Regions from separate parts of the Homo sapiens genome. Here regions 2, 3, 4, 5, 6 and 7 are each linked to region 1. Evidence: promoter capture Hi-C in 16 types of primary human blood cells and fetal thymus (Javierre and others, 2016). All regions are on one chromosome and are shown on one strand. The core of a region is centred on a gene start or on the middle of the fragment in contact, and the rest is flanking DNA. Distances in the headings are between cores, read along the strand shown. Region 1 holds the start of SRP72 (signal recognition particle 72). Region 2 overlaps CLOCK (clock circadian regulator). Region 3 overlaps EXOC1 (exocyst complex component 1). Region 4 overlaps EXOC1-AS1 (EXOC1 antisense RNA 1). Region 5 overlaps IGFBP7 (insulin like growth factor binding protein 7). Region 6 overlaps EXOC1 (exocyst complex component 1). Region 7 overlaps POLR2B (RNA polymerase II subunit B).

Evidence for each region. Contacts are between HindIII fragments. The CHiCAGO score rates a contact against its expected background, and 5 or more counts as called.
Region 2: a contact is called between a fragment that was not itself captured here and the fragment with the promoter of SRP72 in region 1, in 1 of 17 cell types (total B cells). The highest score is 6.0, in total B cells.
Region 3: a fragment that was not itself captured here is called in contact with the fragment with the promoter of SRP72 in region 1 in 1 of 17 cell types (neutrophils); the score reaches 6.8 in neutrophils.
Region 4: a contact is called between a fragment that was not itself captured here and the fragment with the promoter of SRP72 in region 1, in 1 of 17 cell types (neutrophils). The highest score is 5.4, in neutrophils.
Region 5: a fragment that was not itself captured here is called in contact with the fragment with the promoter of SRP72 in region 1 in 1 of 17 cell types (monocytes); the score reaches 5.0 in monocytes.
Region 6: a contact is called between a fragment that was not itself captured here and the fragment with the promoter of SRP72 in region 1, in 1 of 17 cell types (activated CD4 T cells). The highest score is 5.2, in activated CD4 T cells.
Region 7: a fragment that was not itself captured here is called in contact with the fragment with the promoter of SRP72 in region 1 in 5 of 17 cell types (monocytes, naive CD4 T cells, naive CD8 T cells and 2 more); the score reaches 10.3 in monocytes.

The regions. Positions count from the first base shown.
Region 1 is chr4:56,466,307-56,469,006 of GRCh38, reverse strand. SRP72 (signal recognition particle 72) reads right to left here and starts at 1,390. Exons shown (of 19, transcript NM_006947.4): 1 at 1,263-1,390. The coding sequence starts at 1,371. It overlaps LOC124900706 (a long non-coding RNA gene), which reads left to right and starts at 1,449. Exons shown (of 2, transcript XR_007058126.1): 1 at 1,449-1,915. RefSeq lists an enhancer at 1,336-1,545. The HindIII fragment of the contact is 5,513 bases long and covers 1-2,700 here.
Region 2 is chr4:55,537,932-55,540,631 of GRCh38, reverse strand. The region is part of intron 1 of CLOCK (clock circadian regulator); the gene reads left to right. It also overlaps the pseudogene RN7SKP30. Among named protein-coding and RNA genes, the nearest start is that of CLOCK, 7.6 kb to the left of the region's middle. The HindIII fragment of the contact is 5,124 bases long and covers 1-2,700 here.
Region 3 is chr4:55,868,851-55,871,550 of GRCh38, reverse strand. EXOC1 (exocyst complex component 1) reads right to left here. Exons shown (of 19, transcript NM_001024924.2): 6 at 646-873; 7 at 318-450. Among named protein-coding and RNA genes, the nearest start is that of EXOC1, 17 kb to the right of the region's middle. The HindIII fragment of the contact is 5,306 bases long and covers 1-2,700 here.
Region 4 is chr4:55,919,053-55,921,752 of GRCh38, reverse strand. The region is part of intron 3 of EXOC1-AS1 (EXOC1 antisense RNA 1); the gene reads left to right. Among named protein-coding and RNA genes, the nearest start is that of EXOC1-AS1, 28 kb to the left of the region's middle. RefSeq lists an enhancer at 1-1,055. The HindIII fragment of the contact is 1,700 bases long and covers 489-2,188 here.
Region 5 is chr4:57,051,300-57,053,999 of GRCh38, reverse strand. All of the region lies in intron 1 of IGFBP7 (insulin like growth factor binding protein 7), which reads left to right. Among named protein-coding and RNA genes, the nearest start is that of IGFBP7-AS1, 57 kb to the left of the region's middle. The HindIII fragment of the contact is 3,080 bases long and covers 1-2,700 here.
Region 6 is chr4:55,900,995-55,903,699 of GRCh38, reverse strand. It overlaps EXOC1 (exocyst complex component 1), which reads right to left. Exons shown (of 19, transcript NM_001024924.2): 18 at 1,162-1,356. EXOC1-AS1 (EXOC1 antisense RNA 1) reads left to right here. Exons shown (of 5, transcript XR_941069.4): 4 at 2,546-2,650. Among named protein-coding and RNA genes, the nearest start is that of EXOC1-AS1, 46 kb to the left of the region's middle. The HindIII fragment of the contact is 2,674 bases long and covers 1-2,669 here.
Region 7 is chr4:57,010,570-57,013,269 of GRCh38, reverse strand. POLR2B (RNA polymerase II subunit B) reads right to left here. Exons shown (of 25, transcript NM_000938.3): 12 at 2,383-2,522; 13 at 2,170-2,281. Among named protein-coding and RNA genes, the nearest start is that of POLR2B, 33 kb to the right of the region's middle. The HindIII fragment of the contact is 8,493 bases long and covers 1-2,700 here.

The DNA of each region.
Region 1 (2,700 bases), core at 141-2,640:
GAAGAACTCAGGTGGCAAGTTTCAACGCTAACAACTGTTCGGTGTTAAAATGACCAGGATCATAGTTACTCTTGCTCCTGTGCAACTACAGAAGTCCAATTCTCAAAGAATCACAAGAATTTCTACCAATTAAGAAAACATACTGGTAAACAAGTTGACAATCTTTGCTGATTAAAGAATTCCTGCAAAATACTATACTAAGTATACAGTACTGGTTGGAAGGCTAGAGTTAATTCAAACAAATTTAGGGATCAAATAATTCTAATTCGTAGCTATTTTCCTCAATGTCTGAAATCACCAAAAGTGCACTGTGGGCACAATCACTACTTTTCACGTTAACCCAGTACTAGAGTGTTGAAAATTACTTAGATAGCTTTGCATGTTACTGACACACCTTTTAGGTTACTGCTACTCTGAACAGCTAAGCCCTGCCTTGGTAATTACATTTCCAAATCTAACATGCACAGGCTGTATCTTCAGTAGAGAAGAACTGCGCACCACCGAGAACATTAAGCAGCATGGCCATATTCCAGGTATGTAGTAAGGAACAAAAGAATATGATGAATTAAACCTCACACCAAAGGCGGTAAAAACCGAAATCATCCCTTACAGGGCAAAAAAACAGGCCAAACTTTTCTTCCGACATTATTTCAAGTGTTGGTGCTTCCACACACATATTTCCTAACTTAATAACACTGAAGAGATCTCATCTATGGGAATGACAGGCCTGACATCCAGATCCAGCCCTTTCCTCTCGCCCCGTAGAACCCGTACAGCTTCCACCTGGTTAGCACCAGCCTCTAAACTACGTGTCCCAAGCAGGTTCCTCCCCCTTTAGCGGCCAAAGAGAACAAGCTCCCTCAGCAATAGAGTCCTGATCACTGCGCTCAAGACGAAGAAGAAAAGGAGGCACTTTGGAATATTTGTGAAATAAAGCAGCAAAGGAGTCAAATAAGAAAACAGTTTGAAATGGACTCCGGGAGCTGCGGTCTCTTTAAAACCTTCCCTCGCTTCCCGCGGAGGGTAAAAAGAGAAGTACACGTGGCTGTAAGCAACCAGGGACCCCAGGCTGGCCTGGTGAAGCCGAGGAGTGAGACCTGCGTCTTCCGGGCGCTAGGGCCCGAGCCGGGCGGACAATAGACGGGGGGGTTTCGGGGGTCTCCCCTTCCCGTGCCTCCCGCGCGAGGTGGTCTCGCGCGCCGGAAACAGGCCGCATCCTCCAGCCGGCCTGGGCCCGCCCCAGTGCCCACCCCGACACTTACTCTTATTGACGGTCTTGAGAGCGCGCGTGAAGTCGCCGTTCTGGCCATACCGGTTCACTTCACTCCACAGCGCAGGTACTGACACCCCCCCGCTGCCGCCGCTCGCCATCTTGGAGGAGACGAGGGGCGGGGCGGGGAGACCTCTGCCCCGGAACAGGATCTCCGAGGCAGCCAAGAGGAGGAGGAAGTCGATGATTGCTAAGCGTCGCCGAGTTGGGAGTGTCTTCAGCCCTAAGGCAGCATCAGAGATCATAATCTTCTGCTCTCGTGGCAAGAAATTTGTGCGGATAGAGTTGATACACCTCACTTGAAGTTGGCCTGGAGAAAAGAGGCGTCGGACTCCTGGACGGGGTTGGGAAACGGTCACCAGTTTCGGCTCAAAGCAGCCTGTTTCCAGGAGACCGCCATGGTCGAGGCAGCGTCCTGGTCCCACGGTGCGGGGCCGGACGATCATTTATGGGATATAAATAAAAGGACTATGAGGTGGTAAATAAAAGACTACCAACTAGAAGCCATAGGGAGTCATTTGAAGGAGAAATAGGCACGGCTCATCTGTGGTTGAGGGAAAGGGATCTTGAAAGATGATTAGGAGAACTTGGGTTCTGGGGAAAGTGCGGGAAGACATTCTGGCAGAGAAGCAAACGTGAGGAAAGGTAAGAAGGCAAGAATCTCCCATTACAAAGGGTTTGGTGAAACCCTTTGCCTGTCCTTTTCGCTCCCTTCGGGAGCAGTCGGCAATAAGCTGGAAGGGTAATGGGGTGAAAATGCCCGTGGTCAGTTCCCTGGCTCTGCGACTCACTAGATGTCTGACAATAAACAAGTTACTTAGCTTCTGGGAGTCTGTTTTCCCGATTGTGAAATGGGGATACTATATTTGTTCTAGAGATATAAAATATTAGGGTTTGCTTGCGACCGTTAATATCAAGATGTGTTCAGATGTACGAAGGGAATGGATATCTGTTGGGTACACTTGATGTGAGTGATTTTTTTTTTTTTTTGAGACGGGGATCTTGCCGTGTTGCCCAAGCTGGTCTGGAACTCCTGGGCTCAAGCAATCCTCCCACCACAGCCTCCCCAAGTGCTGGGATTACAGGCATGAGCCACCACACCAAGACGATGTGAGTGATTCACTTGATGTGAATGTTGTATTTCATTGAATGGCCTGCTCTTCAGACTCATATCTCGTCATGACCTTTACAACTTCTACTACTTCCTGTGTCCCTCAGGAACCTAGCTTTTTTTTTTTTTTTTTTTTTTTTTTTTTGAGACGTAGTCTAGCTCTGTGACCCAGGATGAACCTCACTGCAATCTCCACCTCCTGGGTTAAAGCGATTCTTTTGCCTCAGCCTCCCAAGTAGCATGAGCCACCACGCCCGGTTAATTTTTGAATTTTTAGTAGAGATGGGGTTTCACTGTGTTGGCCAAGCTGGTCTCAAAC
Region 2 (2,700 bases), core at 160-2,659, 930 kb after region 1:
GCTGCGCTCCCCTGCTAGAACCTTCGAGCAAGCTCTCAAGGTCCAAATAGTGGAAAATGAAAGTACAGGTTGATTCATGTTGGCAGGTTTTGGTATCAAAAAAAAATTAAAAAGCACACATGGGGGATATACCAATAAAGGTTAGACCATATGCCTAGCTAAGAACTTATCATTTGTATTAAAATATGGTTTAATGTAAAGAGTTGCCTTTCTCCATTCCCCCCTCCCCTCCCCTCCCCTCCTCTCCCCTCCTCTCTTGCCCCCAATTAAAAAATAGCACATCCCTAATGTGGGAAACAGTAAGAAAGCATAGATTACATTTTAGGCAGGGCACAGTGGCTCACACCTGTAATCCCAGCACTTTCGGAGGCTGAGGTGGGTGGATCACTTGAGGTCAGGAGTTTGAGACCAGCCTGGCCAACATGGTGAAACCCTGTCTCTACTAAAAGTACAAAAATTAGCCGGGCATGGTGGCGGGTGCCTGTAATCCCAGCTACTTGGGAGGCTAAGGCAGGAGAATTGCTTGAACCCAGGAGGCAGAGGTTGCAGTGAGCAGAGATCACGCCATTGCACTCCAGCCTGTGCGACAGATCAAGACTCAGTCTCAAAAAAAAAAAAAAAAAATTAATATCATTGGAGATCATACCACCGAAAGTGCTGTTGTTAATCTTCTTGATTATCTATCTGCTTCCTGCATTTTGTTGAGCCATTACATAAGTATATGTATACTTATATGATGTTATGGGCTCCTAATGTAGTCCACTGCAGTGCAAGCTGTTCAGTTAACAGTGAATCATCAACATATTTTCATGTCAGTATTTTTCTGCTATGTGATTATTTTTAGTAGGTATGTAACATTCTCATCTCTGTGTAATAATTTACTTATCAATCTTCTGTTGGACATTGAAGTTGTTTTCAATTTTTAGGATAATAATACTGTCACTTCCCTATATCATGCATTTTGATACTGGCCTACCTAGTATCAGTGATTTTTTCTATTTTTGTTTCTCTGAAAATATCTCAATTTCACCTTTTTTTTTTTTTTTTTTTTTTTTTTTTGAGACAAGGTCTCACTCTGGCACCCAGGCTGGAGTGTAGTGGTGTGAACATGGCTCACTGTAGCCTCAACCTTTTGGGCTCAGGCAATCCTTCACCTCAGCCTCCTCAGTAGCTGGAACCACAGGCACATGCCACCATGCCCAGCTAATTTTTAAATTTTTTGTATAGGCGGGGTCTTGTCATGTTGCCCCGGCTGTTCTTGAACTCCTGGGCTTAAGAGATCCCCCCACCTTGGCCTCCCAAAGTGCTGGGTATAGGTGTGAGCCACCATGCACGGCAGTTTCACCTTTTTTGAAGTGGTTTTTGGTGTTTTTTTTGTTGTTGTTGTTGTTGTTTTTTTGAGACAGTCTCGTTCTGTTGCTTAGGCTGGAGTGCAGTGGCGTGATCTGAGCTCACTGCAGCTTCTGCCTCCTGGGTTCAAATGATTCTCATGCCACAGCCTCCTGAGTAGCTGGGATTACAGGCATGTGCTACCATACCCAGCTAAATTTTTTGTATTTTTAGTAGAGATAGGATTTTGCCATGTTGGCCACGCAGGTCTCCAAACTCATGGCCTCAAGTGATCTGCCCACCTTGGCCTCCCAAAGTGCTAGGATTACAGGCATGAGCCACTGTGGCTGGCCTGAAGTGTGTTTTCACTGGCTATTAAGTTCTAAGTTGGTAGTTATTTTCTTTCAACACATTAAGAATGTTTGGTTGCTTTCTGTCTTCCTTTCTTTTTGTTGAAGTCAGCTACCAGTCTTATTGAAGGCAATGTATTAGCTATATTCTTGCTGAGGATAATGTGTCTTTTATTTTTCCTTGGCTAATTTTAAGACTCTCTGTGTTACTTTTAAAGCACTTTGATGTGTTCAGATGTGGTTTTCTTTGTTGCTTTATGTTTATAGAGTTTTTTGAATCTAGCTGGATGCCTTTTAGTTTTGGAAAGTTCTGTTACCACCTTTTCATATATTCTGCCCCTTTTTTCTTTTTGGATCCTAATTACACATATATTAAACTTAATTATCATGTTCCACATGTTGAAAAAAATTTTTTTCTCTGTTTGGATATTTTCTATCGACCTGCCTTCCAGTATGCCAAAACTATCTTCTCTTTTTGTCAAAATAATCTTTTGTGTTCTTAATTTTACATTGTGGTTTTGAGTTCTAGAGTATTCCTTTGATGTTGTTTTATAGACTTGTAATAGACTCCAGTTCTCTTGAACATACTAATTATAGTTATTTAAATGCTTGTCTTTTCCAATATCGGCATCATCTATTGGTCTGTTTATCTTGTTTGTTTTTCTGTTGGTTATTGGTCATATGGTTGTATTGTTCCGTCTCTTCACATGCCTGATAAGTTTTCGAAGGAACTTACCCATTTCATTTAACTTGTTGCATTTATTGCAAAAAGTTGCTTATAATACTCTATTATTGTTCTTTTAATATCTGTAGAAAGTGTAATGAGTCTAATATCTGTATAACCTGTAGAGATTTAGTATCATTCCGAATACTAGTAATTTGTCTCTGCTCCCCTTTTCCCTGATTAGTCTGGCTAGAAGTTTATTAATTTTATTGAGGTTCTTAAAAAGTTAACTTTTAGTTTAATTGACTGCCTGTGGTTTTCTTATTTCCGCCCTGGTCTTTATTTCCTTTCCTCAGC
Region 3 (2,700 bases), core at 123-2,622, 600 kb after region 1:
TTCTGACGGACACTCAAGTTTTGAAATAATTGCTCTCGTCTAACCAAAGCACCTACTTTCTGCTGGGTTCTGTGGATAGTACTAAATAAAGATCATGGTGTTGACTATAGTCATTGAGGACAATTAGAAGGAGGAACTGAAGTAAAAAAGTTCCTAGTATCAATAGAAATAAGTTGGGAAATCAGTGAAACTTGAATAGCTAATAATGTAACCCTTAAACCACTTGTCTCATGTATTTCTTGTCAAAACCTTTATAACAAGTTACAGGCTTAGTCTCACATTCTTGGTCACATTTTTGTCATTTCTAATGAACATACCTGGTCGAAGAGCTACATTCATGCACTGCAGAAGGGCATCAGCAGCATTGGTGCAGGCCTCAATGCCTCTGGAAGAAGCAAGATCTCCTTCCTGAAGGGCCTTTATATGACCTTTGGCCAAGTCCATGTGGTTCTAGAATATATGCAAACACACCATTTGCATGTGTAATTTTGGGAAATTTACAGGCAAGATGCTATTCAGTCCTATCATTAGGTCTTTGGAATTATTTTAAATCCTGTTCTCACAAGGAAATTAAAAAATGTTTACAAATGGGTTTTATATATCATCACTAGTTTTTTTTTGTTGGTAATTTATGATCATACTTACCACAAGGAACTCTATCTCAGATAGGAGTTTTACATTATTAGTGTTACTAAGATGAATTAGGTGGTTGCTTTCAGAGATCTGATCCATTTGTTCTTTTACACTTTGGAGCATTTCCTCATAACTGCTCAGTTTCAATTCAATCTGATCTACCTCCTTTAGAGCCTCATCTAGCAATTTCATCAGGATGTTGACTTGTTTTTCAGATGCCATGATTGACTGGATGTTAGCCTACAAAGTTAAAGACCAAAACAAACAAACAAACAAACAAACAAACAAAAAACATACTTGTTATTTAGATGTGTAAAAGAATAAAGGTGAAATGTTGCTAAATTTCCTTGAAAGTAGCATAACAAAAATTGATATATACCTACACATCTACTTCAGTTTATCACTTTATGTTCTTCCATGTTTTACACAGTATTTCATGCAGGTACACTTGCCTCTAAATCAATGTTAGGGACCATGCCTTAGGATTTTATATTTCCACAGACTGCACAAGTAAGGTTCCAGAATGCACAAGTAAGGTGCCAGAAAGTATCACTGGTAATGGCACATTCTCATTTCTATACATTTAGGAGGCATTAGGCCATGTTATCTCTAACATTTCCTCCAATTCTACCAGCTAGAAATTTTCTTAACACCTATGTGAAACCCTAAATAAAAGCATAATCACCTATGTGATATCTTAGTTGAGAAAGCAGCAGTGGTATACCAGACTCTGAAGGATATATGAAACTAATTTATAACTGTAGTATGATGGGAACTAGTAACAGGATGTAGAAGAGCATACGGCCGATAGCTCCTTCTATCATCTTTTTTCTTTTCTCTTTCAACTGTTTTTTTTTTCTTCCCCAGGCAAAGCAGTAACAAACCACCATCCCCTTATCACTATTTTCTAAATGATTCTGACTATTGATTCTGAATTCCCTGAAATAAGGAAACTGCCAAATCCAAAATTAAACTGCAAAGCAATATGCTGACTTGGAACATATATACCATATTAATTAGAACAAAAAATATAAATCACTAAGCCATATTAAGAAGGCAAGTAACATGGTACGATGAAAAACCTGGACCAGAAATTTAAAGGATATCATTGTACAGCTGACGCTGTGGTTTCACACGTTATTTACATACTATCCACAGTAAATAAAATGTAAGTGCAATACGACTTTAAGAGTCAGAAGGGTTCAGAAGCCACTGACATCTCTTAAGTAACAGAGCTGGGGTTTGAATCTGCCCAGGATTTCTTCCTTAACATCTTAAAATCATTTCTAGGCTTTGCTTTCAGTGAACTCTGTAAACTTGTAAGCCTGGACTATTCATATAATCTCTCTGGGCCTGAGTCAGACCCCATAACTTCTGTACCTTTCATGTATACAACACTAAAATTTAAGTCTTTAAAATGTTCCTTATCCTCTGAGGGATTTCTTAAATGCTTACCTTTTCTTAAAACCAGAACAAACCCAAATGATTTTAGATTACTCTAGCATAAGAGATGCGGTGTGTTTGATTTTTTTGTTTTGTTCTGTTTTGTTTTGAGACAGAGTGTCACTCTGTCACCCAAGCTGGAGTGCAGTGGCACGATCTCAGTTCACGGCAACCTCTGTCTTCCAGGTTCAAGCGATTCTTGTGCCTCAGCCTCCCAAGTAGCTGGGACCACAGGAGCATGCCACCATGTCTGGCTAATTTTTTTTTTTTTAGTAGAGATGTGGTTTTGCCATGTTGGCCAGGCTCGTCTCGAATTCCTGACCTCAGGTGATCTGCTCGCCTCAGTCTCCGAAAGTGTTGAGATTACAGGTGTAAGCCACTGCCCCAGCAGGTGCTGTGCATTTGAATTACACTCAAAAACTGCACACAAAACAAAAAGGTCTATTCTAAAACATTTTAGCAAAGAAGTCACAGATCTTTTTCTCTGGCTCTCCTGTTTTCACCACACTCACTCCACTCTTCTTTGGTAAATGATTCACATATTTCAGCCACATTTCTCTCTTTATACTTCATCCCTATTTTTATTTTTTTCAAACCACACACATACACACAAATGCTATTCTT
Region 4 (2,700 bases), core at 89-2,588, 550 kb after region 1:
CATTTATTTTTATTTTTATTTATTTATTTTTGGGGATAGGGTCTTGCTCTGTCACCCAGGCTGGAGTGCAGTGGCACAATCGCAGCTCACTGCAGCCTTGACTTCTCCAGCTCAAGTGTTTCTCCCACCTCAGCTTCTTGAGTAGCTGGGACCACAGGCACCTGCTGCCAAGCCCGGCTAATTAAACAATTTTTTTTTTGGTAGAAATGAGGTCTTATTGTGCTGCCCAGGCTGGTCTTGAACTACTGGGCTCAAGCAATCCTCCCACCTCGGCCTCCTAAAGTGCTGGGATTATAGGTGTGAGCCACTGTGCCCGGCCTATGAGGTTTTATTTACAGGTTTCTTTTAATTGCTTCCTATAAAAGTGCTTCATATATAAGTGACCTTACACTGAGTAATAGAGTGAAGATATTAGATGATGACAAGGCATTTTATCACGGCTTTCCTGTTTTCATGTGACTGATACCATAGCAGTAATGTTCAAAGCTTTCATGTCTTATTTTATTTTTGATGTGTCATAAAGCATAGCCAATACAGCCTCTGCTCTCTAATGTGATAGAGTAACATGGAATGCAGTGGTGATTGATCAATTGGATTTGTCAATGTCTTAAAAAGTAGTAATATGATTCTTTTTTAAATTAAAGAAGACATAACTTTGACAGGCCGATTAAATTGGGGATGAGAAATGCCAATCCAGTGAATCAATTGTTGGCATAGACATAAGAAACAGGACCCAGTTTATGTCTAGTTTCCAGGACTGGTGAGCAGGGCTCTTTCCAAGGTCATTTTGGAGTATTCTAAACCAATTTCTTGGAAGGTCGGTTGAAAATAAAAGCCCTTCTTCTCTGCTTTGTCCCAAGTGGGCAGGTAGCAAATGTCTTTGCTTGGTGACCGTGCCAGGGAAGCACAGCTGAAGTCAGACAAGCCAGGGTTGGAATTGTGGCTGCATCACTTCTTAGCCATGTGACTTGGAAAACTGCTTACATGGGCAGCTGACTTCCCCTAGTGCTCTTGTTGTGAAAATTAAACCAGAGAGTACATTCTGACTGCAGTGCTTGGTACACGGTGCTCTGGGATAATCACATACGACTATCCATTTGGAAACAGGGCTCTGTTTCTAACCAGTATATGTTTGGGTTGCTACATATGGGAAGGAGCACGTCTTCACTTCCTGCTTCCACATCCACGGTCATCTAAACCAGCTCAAAAAATCTAAACCAGCTGTCGTCCTTTTCCCCTTTGCTATCTCAGAGGTGGAGCAGGGAGACTATGGTGTGGCAGCTACAGTGGTAGCAGTGGTGGAAGCCATGGATTGTAGCAGTAGTGATGGCATCTTGAAGCCAAAAGTTCAGTGATGGCCCTTTGACTTCTGGCCCTCCAGCACTTCCACTGATATTTCATGAATTTTTATTTTTATTATTATTATTATTGAGACAGGGTCTTTCTCTGTCAGCCAGGTTGGAGTGGAGCAGCATGATCACAGCTCACTGCAACCCTGACCTCCTGGGCTCAAGCAATCCTCCCATTTCAGCCTCCTGAGTAGCTGGTATTACAGACGGGCACCACTACACCAGTAATTTTTTTTTTTTTTTTGTATTTTTATTAGAGATGGAGTTTTGCCATGTTGCCTAGGCTGGTCTCAAACTCCTGTGCTTAAGCAATCTGCCTGCCTCGGCCTCCCAAAGTGCTGGGATTACAGGTGTGAGCCACCTTGCCTGGCCTAAATTCTTCAAATACCTAGAATGCTTTTGATTTTCTTCACTGAACTCTGACAGATACAAGTGCTTGAGGTCATTTAAATAAAATCCTGGCTTTGACCCTGGGTATCAATCTGGGTTACTACTGTTCTTTTCCTTCTTTGTTTTTTTTTTCTTTTTGAGATGGAGTCTCACTATGTCACCAGGCTGGAGAGCAGTGATGTGATCTCAGCTCACTGCAACCTCTGACTCCCTGGTTCAAGCGATTCTCCTGCCTCAGCTTCCTGAGTAGCTGGGATTACAGGCACATGCCACTACGCCCAGCTAATTTTTGTATTTTTAGTAGCGACAGGGTTCACCATGTTGGCCAGGATGGTCTCTGTCTCCTGACCTCATGAGCCGCCCGCCTTGGCCTCCCAAAGTGCTGTGAATACTGTTCTTTTCTTCATGATCGAGCTTCAGGGAAGAGTGGTTCCTTAATACCTAAAGCTTCCTATGCACCTTTGCACTTAATTCTACCACAATCAGGCTTTCTCTCTGCTACTGAAGCACTGATATGCCTTGACCAAGGTCAGCAATGACCAACCAAATGCCAATTTTAGTGGACTCTTTCCATCCTTGTCTTATTTAACCACTATTGGACACTGTGGATCACACTTTTCTTTCTGGAACGTGTTCTTCTCTTGGTCCCTGTAACACAATCTCTCCCAACTACCTCTTATATCTTTGGTCACTCTTGGCCAACCTCCATTGTGAGCTCCTTATCCTCTCTAAATTTTGGCACTCCCCAGAGTTCCAGCTTCAGAGCTCTTCTCTTCTTAGTATAATACACTGAGCAACCGAATAGACTTCTGTGATTTCTGCTACTGTACCTATGGTAACGACTCTCAAATCTCTACCCCTCTGCCGTATACAAATCCTTCATGCTCTGGGCACTGTAGACTCCCTCCTTTCTACCCTTCTGCCTCCAAATATGTTGAATTCTGAAAACGTCTTGCCAGGT
Region 5 (2,700 bases), core at 15-2,514, 590 kb before region 1:
GAAACTCACTATCTAGGCTTCTAGGAATCCCAGAATCAGGTGTGACCATCCACGTGGTTAGCAATAAGTTTCCTATGGGAACTTCCCACCCAATTCAGTGCTTGCAGAATAAGAAAGCGCTAGCAAAAACATTTAATATCTTGTATTTAAGGTGAGTCATAGTCCAGACAGGACAGGCCCATGAGATGTGGAAAAAATGTGTTTCCAAGGCTATGTTAACATCACTAGGGAGTTTCGTCTCGGGAAAGCACTCTCTATAAAGTCAGTTCTTCCAGGTCCTCAAACCAATTCAAAACCTAGCCTGCTGATTCAACTTGTGTGGACCTCAGCCAGTCTGGTATTAGGATGATAGTGTAGGTATTCCAGCTTCCTAGGGGAGCTCTGCTGAATACGTTAGCTCATCCCTGGGCAATGTTGTTGGCACAGCCCCATGTTACCTCATCTATCACATGGTTACCAGAGCGAGCTCACCATCTTGCACACCTGAACATGGTTTCAAGTCCTTCATGGATTTGCTTCATGGCAGTAGCAGGGTCCCTTCAAGAATGACACCAGACCACATGTACCAGAACCACCATGGGCAAGAACCACACCCTGGAGTCAGACTCTTTGTCAGTACCCCACTTTTTTTTAATGCTAGACCCATACAAGGAAGGGGACAAGAATAAGAAAACATCATCAAGGGCCAGGTGCGGTGGCTCACGCCTATAATCCCAGCACCCTGGGAGCCCGAAGCGGGCAGATCACCTGAGGTCAGGAGTTCGAGATCAGCCTGATCAACATGGTGAAACTCCATCACTGCTAAAATTACAAAAATTAGCCAGGTGTGATGGTGTGTGCCTGTAGTATCAGCTACTCTGGAGGCTGAGGCAGGAGAACTGCTTGAACCTGGGAGGCAGGGGCTGCAGTGAGCCGAGATTGTACCACTGCACTCCAGCCTGGGCGACAGAGTAAGACTTCATTTCAAAAAAAAAAAAAAAGATAGAAAAGAAAGCATCATCAAATAAGAGATTTGTTTGCAAGCAACCAACACATTGCAAGAAGCAACTTTCTGTGCATGTTCTGTGGTCAATTCAAAATTACAGTGATAATTGTGAGATATCACAAGATTGACAGTCATCGTAGTGAGATATTTGAGTACTATGTCCACTTGAGAAAAACAGACTTCATGCTCCCTACGAAGATTCTCAGCATCAAAGATTGGACCCAAAACGAGGTGTCTTATTAATCCAGAGGTAACTAGCAATCAGCCAGGAACTCAACTCACAAGACCTGGGCACGCGGTCACCAGGGCAGCATTGTATTGAATGGTCTGCTCTTAGATGGACTGGCCCTGCAAATACGTGCCTGGAAGCTAAGCAAGGCCGTGCTATTCACTTATCTGCTTTACCTGGGGTGGGGTGGGGACGGGCCAGGTGGTCAGCAGTGAGCTGATGGAACTCCCTCTGGAGAAACTAGTGAGAGGGAGTGCCAAATCTGTCTTCCTTCCACCCAAAGGACCCCACATAGCCTTCCCAGGGCTAAAATGTCAGCTAGACAGTGCTTGCCTTGGCACTTCTGGTCTCCCCACTGGGGTTCAGTGCCTCCTCATGGCCCAGGTGATACCTGAAATTCAGCAAATTTAAACCCAAGTCCACCCTTTCCCCTTCTTCAATCCAGCACCTTCCTCAGACTGACACCCCTGCTTCTGTTCATGGTGCGGCAGCCTCCTGGAACCTTTGAGGCTCACAGCCTTTAAATCATGCCTCTCTTTCCTACATCCAGTCAGTTACTGGGTAGTGTTAGTTCTTCCTGAATAATCCCCCAAGTCTTCCCCTTTTCTCTGTCTTCTCATTGCTGCGACCTTGAGTTAGAGCCTTAATCCCCGCCATGTCCCATCCTGATGCGGAGACCTCCAAAATCATCTTGGGAAATGCCACTTGAATCATGACACTCCCACTTTCAGAGACACATTGGAGGGTGAGGCCCCACCTCATCTGCTTTCTGCTGTGCCCTACACCACACACGAATCCTCTTCCCGAGCTGGCCCGCATGCTCACTATTCAAGGCAGGCCAGCGTTTTCCTGCCTCTCCTCAGGCAGGTCCCTGTCTTTCACCTTCCTTGATGAAAGTCTAATTTCTGAAATGAAAAGCAACAGCTCATACTTACTGAATGTTTACCCCATGCCAGGTACTGTGCTAATGGCTGTATCTTGTTTGATCCTTTTGATGGTCTAATGACTGGGATACTATCATTCCATTTCACAGATGAATAAAGCAGGGGAAGTGAAATAACTTGTGCAATGTTGCATAACTCAGGAGTGGTAGAGCAGAATTCCTGATTCCAAGTCCACGCTCCAAAGTCACTATAGTCTATTACCTCCCAGCATTTTGTTCTTACTCTTAATGCGCTAAGCCTCCCCAACACCACCCCAACAGATTATATTTAGAGAAGAGGAAGCAGTTCTTACACACTTTTGCCCTAAACAGTGTTTGGCAGGGTCCCATTATTATAAACTATTGGTTCTTCATTCACACTAAAGTGGAAATGACTAACAGTAGCTTCCATAACTAGATGAATTTGCCTTAAACTAAAAGCCTGAGATTAAATCTGGCCTATGCTGCTTAAGCTGTTGTACTTTCTTCTCCTCCCCTGCTGTCCTCAGCCAGTACCCCTGAGACCGTGTGCTAGATTCCCATACCAGGGTTCAGCTGCTACAT
Region 6 (2,705 bases), core at 83-2,582, 570 kb after region 1:
TTTATCAGCACAGTACAAAGCACTTTATGAATATATTATAGTATTAAGTCTCATGATGACCTGGTGAGGGTGGGTATTATGATCATCTTCCCTATTTGACAGCTGAGGGAATGTATTCTTCCAAGATTTTTTCTTGTAAATCCTAAATCTCATAAATCCTAAATTCCTGCCAACTTAAGACCAATCGCTATTCCCTAAGCAGTGTTATGCTTTTTACTTTTCATCGTTTAGCTCATATTATTTCTTTCTAGAATGCTACTCCCTCCATCCCCACTTTGCCTGTTCAAGTACATCTGACTTTCAGAGGTTAAAACAAACAATGCAATATCCCTCAGGAAGTCTTCCATGATGTTGAAATCAGAATTACTCTCACTCATATCTGGGCCTTTCAATATGGTTTATAAAGAATAATGGCCTAATTTGGACTTTAAATCTGGCTCCACTACCCATTAGTTAAGAGAGCTTGGTCCTATTACTCCACCTCTCTAAGCTGATTTTCTTTCTTTCTCTTTCTTTCTTTTTCTTTCTTTCTTTCTTTTTTTTTTTTTTTTTAATTGAGACACGGCCTCACTCTGTTGCGTAGGCTGGAGTGCAGTGGTAGGATCATAGTTCACTGGAGCCTCAATCTCCTGGGCTCAAGTGATCCTCCTGCCTCAGCTTCCCGAGTAGCTGGGACTACAGGCACGTGCCACCATGCCCAGCTAATTTTTTTAATTTTTAGTAGAGACAAGGTCTTGCTATGTTGCCCAATACAGTGGCTACTGTACAAGAGATGTATCGTTTCCACTTATCAAATAAGGAAACTAAGGCTCAGAGAGGTTAAGTAACTTCCCAAAGTCACACAGCTTAATCTGGAGCCAGATTATGAACCCATCTCTAATTCCAACCACTCAACCAACCAACCAACCAACCAACCAACCAACCAAAGAAAAACAAACTTAATGCCTCACCATAATATAGCAGAAATACGAAATAAGCAGAAATAGCCATATATGCTTATATAAACAGTATTCCTTTCTTCCTCACAATTCATTAATCTGGTCTGTACTCTAATGGAACTCTCCTCCTGCTCTAGATCTGTAGCATTTCTAGAAAATTATTTAAAGAAAAGCAATATATGTAAGGATCTTTAAGTCAGATGGTCAAAAGAAGTAAGCATACCTGAAGTAAGTTCTCTTCTTCACATAAATGTTTATCAACTTTCTTGTAGAGGTTATCTAGACCTTTTTTTACTTCCTTTCCAGGGTACTCCTTAATGACTTTACGAAGTTCTTGTTTGTTAAATGCAAGTTGGTAACTTACTTCCTCCTCCCTTATGCCCTGTGCCACGCGAGCTTCAACACCTTCAAAGAAATGCTTCAAGGAAATGAAAAGAAACAATGGCTAAGACCTGCATTTATTATTATTTACATTAAAAAAATCTGATTACAAAGTAGTGTATAATCACCATGCAAAAATCAGTGTGTGAAAGTATAAACAATAAAATAACAATCACTTATTAACATACTTCTGAGATGAACATTGTTAATATTGTAGAGTTCCTTGTAATCTTTTGATGTGTGAATACATACAGGAGATTAAAATTTCATGTCCCACTTTACATTTAATATTGTTTTTTCCTAAATATAAATTTTAATGGCTGCATAATATTTCACACAATGACTGAACCACAATTATTATTCATTCCTCTAGTACTAGATATTTAACATCCCACTCCCCCTTCTTTTTTTGGACTTGGCAAATCTAGTGAGACTTTAGAAAATCTACTATAAATATATTTGTCATAAATTTTTTTTGTATATAAGTATTTACCCATCTTACTGATTAAATTTCCAGGACTATAATTACTCTGTTGAAGAGCATAACTTTAAGTATTTGAAAGATTCTTCAGTATATATACAAACTGCTTCCTAGGAAAGCTCAACCAATTTATATTTCTGTCAACAGTGTATGAGGTTGCTACTTCACTATACCATCATAAGCATTATGACAATTTATAACAATAGTTGCCAGAGTAAAAAAAGTTTGTCATTTTATTTTATAATTCTTTGGCTATAAATAAGGTTAACCTGCTTTTATATGTTTAGTAGTGATTCAGCCCCTTGCCCCATTTATAAATTGGGGTCTTAGTGCTTTTCTTATTGATTTTAGTAAGATTTTTTATATTAAATATACTGACTCTGTTATATTATTGTAACTATTATTCCCAGGTCTTCTTTTATATATATACTTTTATTGACTGGCATAACTGTATTTGAGCACGATACAAAGAATTAATGCTGACAAACCCCATTCCCTCTCATTACTTTTTTCTAAAATTTTCTTAGTGATTATTCATTAAATTATCATTCTTTGAGAAGTTATTCTTAGTGCTTTAAAAATTTTGTTTTTACATAAGCTCTTAATTGGTAGACAGGAAATACATTGTTTTTCAGTATATTTGCTTTAAATTTTGTCACTTGACCAACACCAGTAATTTCAACATATCATATACAGGTGGTGATAATCTCGTCTCTGTTTTCCATATCTCTTATTTATGTTTCAGGTCTTGTTGAACTGGCTAGTGCTTCAACAACAATGCTAAATAATAAAGGATCTAACAATATTTCTGCTTTAAATTGATTTCAGAGGGAATGTCTCTAACGTTGCAGTTAAGTATCATGTAAGCTTTAGGCCTGAGATAGATCTTTTATCCAGTTAAAGGA
Region 7 (2,700 bases), core at 23-2,522, 540 kb before region 1:
CTCAGTGGCTCACACCTGTTATCCCAGTACTTTGGAAGGCCAAGGCAGGCAGATGGCTTGAGCCCAGGACTTCAAGACCAGCCTGGCCAACTATGGCAAAACCCCATCTCTACCAAAAATACAAAAATTGGCCAGGTGCAGTGGCTCACGTCTATAATCCCAGCACTTTGGGAGGCTGAGGCAGGTGGATCACCTGAGGTCAGGAGTTCGAGACCAGGCTGGCCAACATGGAGAAACCCAGTCTCTACTAAAAATACAAAAATTAGCCAGGCATGGTGGCAGGCACCTGTAATCCCAGCTACTCAGGAGGCTGAAGCAGGAGAATTGCTTGAACCCGGGAGGCAGACGTTGCAGTGAGCCGAGATCATGCCACTGCACTCCAGCCTGAGCAAGAGAGTGAGACTCCACCTCAAAAAAATAAAAATAGAAATACAAAAATTAGCCGGGCATGGTGGTACACATCTGTAATCCCAGCTACTCAGGAGGCTGAGGCATGAGAATTTCTTGAACCTGGGAGACAGAGGTTGCAGTGAGCTAAGATAGCAACACTCTACTCCAGCCTGGGCAACAAAGCCAGACTCTGTCCCTGCCCCCCAACAACAATAACAAAAAAACACTCAGGGTCTGCTGCTGGAAAAGGCCCAGAACAACCAAACTCTCTTCTCTGCTGTTTTAGGTACAAAGACCAGCTACTGGCTAAGCGTGTTCAGTTTCTCTCAAAAACCACTTTCACCCAAGGTATAGATTTGGGAAAATTAAAAGCCTGAACTACATTCCGCAAACAGTATACTAAAACCCTTACTTGGGAGAGTAATAAAGTTCACAATATATTGTAATGATTTTTTTTTTTTTTAATAAATTTTTGGAGACAGAGTCTCACTCTGTCACCCAGGCTGGAGTACAATGGTGCAATCTCTGCTCATTGCAACCTCTGCCTCCCGGATTTAAGCAATTCTCATGCCTCAGCTTCCCGAGTAGCTGGGACTACAGGCACATGCTACCATGCCCAGCTGATTTTTTTATTTTTAGTAGAGACAGGGTTTTGCCATGTTGGCCAGGCTGGTCTCAAACTCCTGACCTCAAGTGATCCGCCTGCCTCAACTTCCCAAAGTGCTGGGATTACAGGCATGAGCCACCAGGCCCGGCCTTATTGTAATGATTTTTTTAAAACCCATCCTAATCCCAAAGCACTTCAATATCCTCCAAAATATAAAAGAATCTATTAGTGGTATATCACATTTTATTAATGAATCTCTGGATTCAAAGGATAAATCCCAGATGGTTATTCCCTTTTAAAAAGTATTCTCAGCTTTATAAAAAGATTCCCAAAAGAATTTTTACTTTAAAATGTAATTTGAGTTCTAAAATATAATTTAATAATTTAAAATGTGCCAAAATTTTTGGAAGCATGCATCGAAAGATTAAGGCAAGCAATAACTTCTTTTTTTGAGATGGAGTCTCGCTCTGTCGCCAGGCTGGAGTGCAGTGGTGTGATCTTGGCTCACTGCAACCTCCGCCTCCTGGGTTCAAGCAATTCTCCTGCTTCAGCTTCCTGAGTAGCTGGGACTACAGGCGCGCGCCACCACGCCCAGCTAATTTTTGTATTTTTAGTAGAGACAGGGTTTCACCATGTTGGCCAGGATGGTCTCAATCTCTTGACCTTGTGATCCGCCTGCCTTAGCCTCCCAAAGTGCTGGGATTACAGGCGTGAGCCACCATGCCCAGGCTTTTTTTTATTTTTTGAGACAGAGACCCACTCTGTCACCCAGGCTGGAGTGCAGAGGTGCAATCTCACCTCACCATAACCCCCGCCTCCCGGGTTCAAGTGATTCTCCTGTCTCAGCCTCCCGAGTAGCTGCGATTACAGGCCCATGCCACCGTGCCTGGCTAATTGTTGTATTTTTAGTAGAGATGGGGTTTCGCCATATTGGCCAGGCTGCGCTTGAACTCCTGACCTCAGGTGATCTGCGCCTCGGCCTCCCAAAGTGCTGGGATTACAGGCATGAGCCACTGCACCCGGCCTAGCAATAACTTATAATTAAATTTACACTTTACAGTTCAAGGGAATAAAGTTCAAAGAAAAGATGCCAATGCAAAGATAACTTTCACTAGTCCTATGCCTTGTTTAAAAATCTCACAGTCCACACCCTCTTAACTAAAGATTCTTACTTCAGACACAATGATGTCCATCTGACGTCTCAATTTCCTTAGGGTGTTCATAAGTTGTTCGGGATCTTTATGTATTCCAACCCAGCAGCCATTAACAAAAATCTTGGTTGCACTACAATGAAAAAGCAAAAGCATTTTACACTTAACAATTCTATACTAAGCAACAACTAAAGATTAACTATAGTTTAAAAAACTAATTCCATCTATACACACTCAGCAATAGCTGCAGGAGAAATTTCTTCTAAATTTTCCATACTCCATTCTTCTAAAAATTCCAGAATTGGAGATGGTTGAGATCCAACTGAAATATACGCCATCAAGGCTAAATTCTTCACAAGTCCTACAGCATGGCCCTAAAAAATAAACCAAGTATTAGTCATTCTGATTTTACATGCCTATCAAACTTCTTTTCCATAAACATTTTTCCTTCAATGTGATTTCAAGATTTATTCTTACTTTCTAAGAATACAATTATAAAAAAAACTTATTTCTAAACCACTCTGCATAATTTTTCAAACATCTATTTCTAAA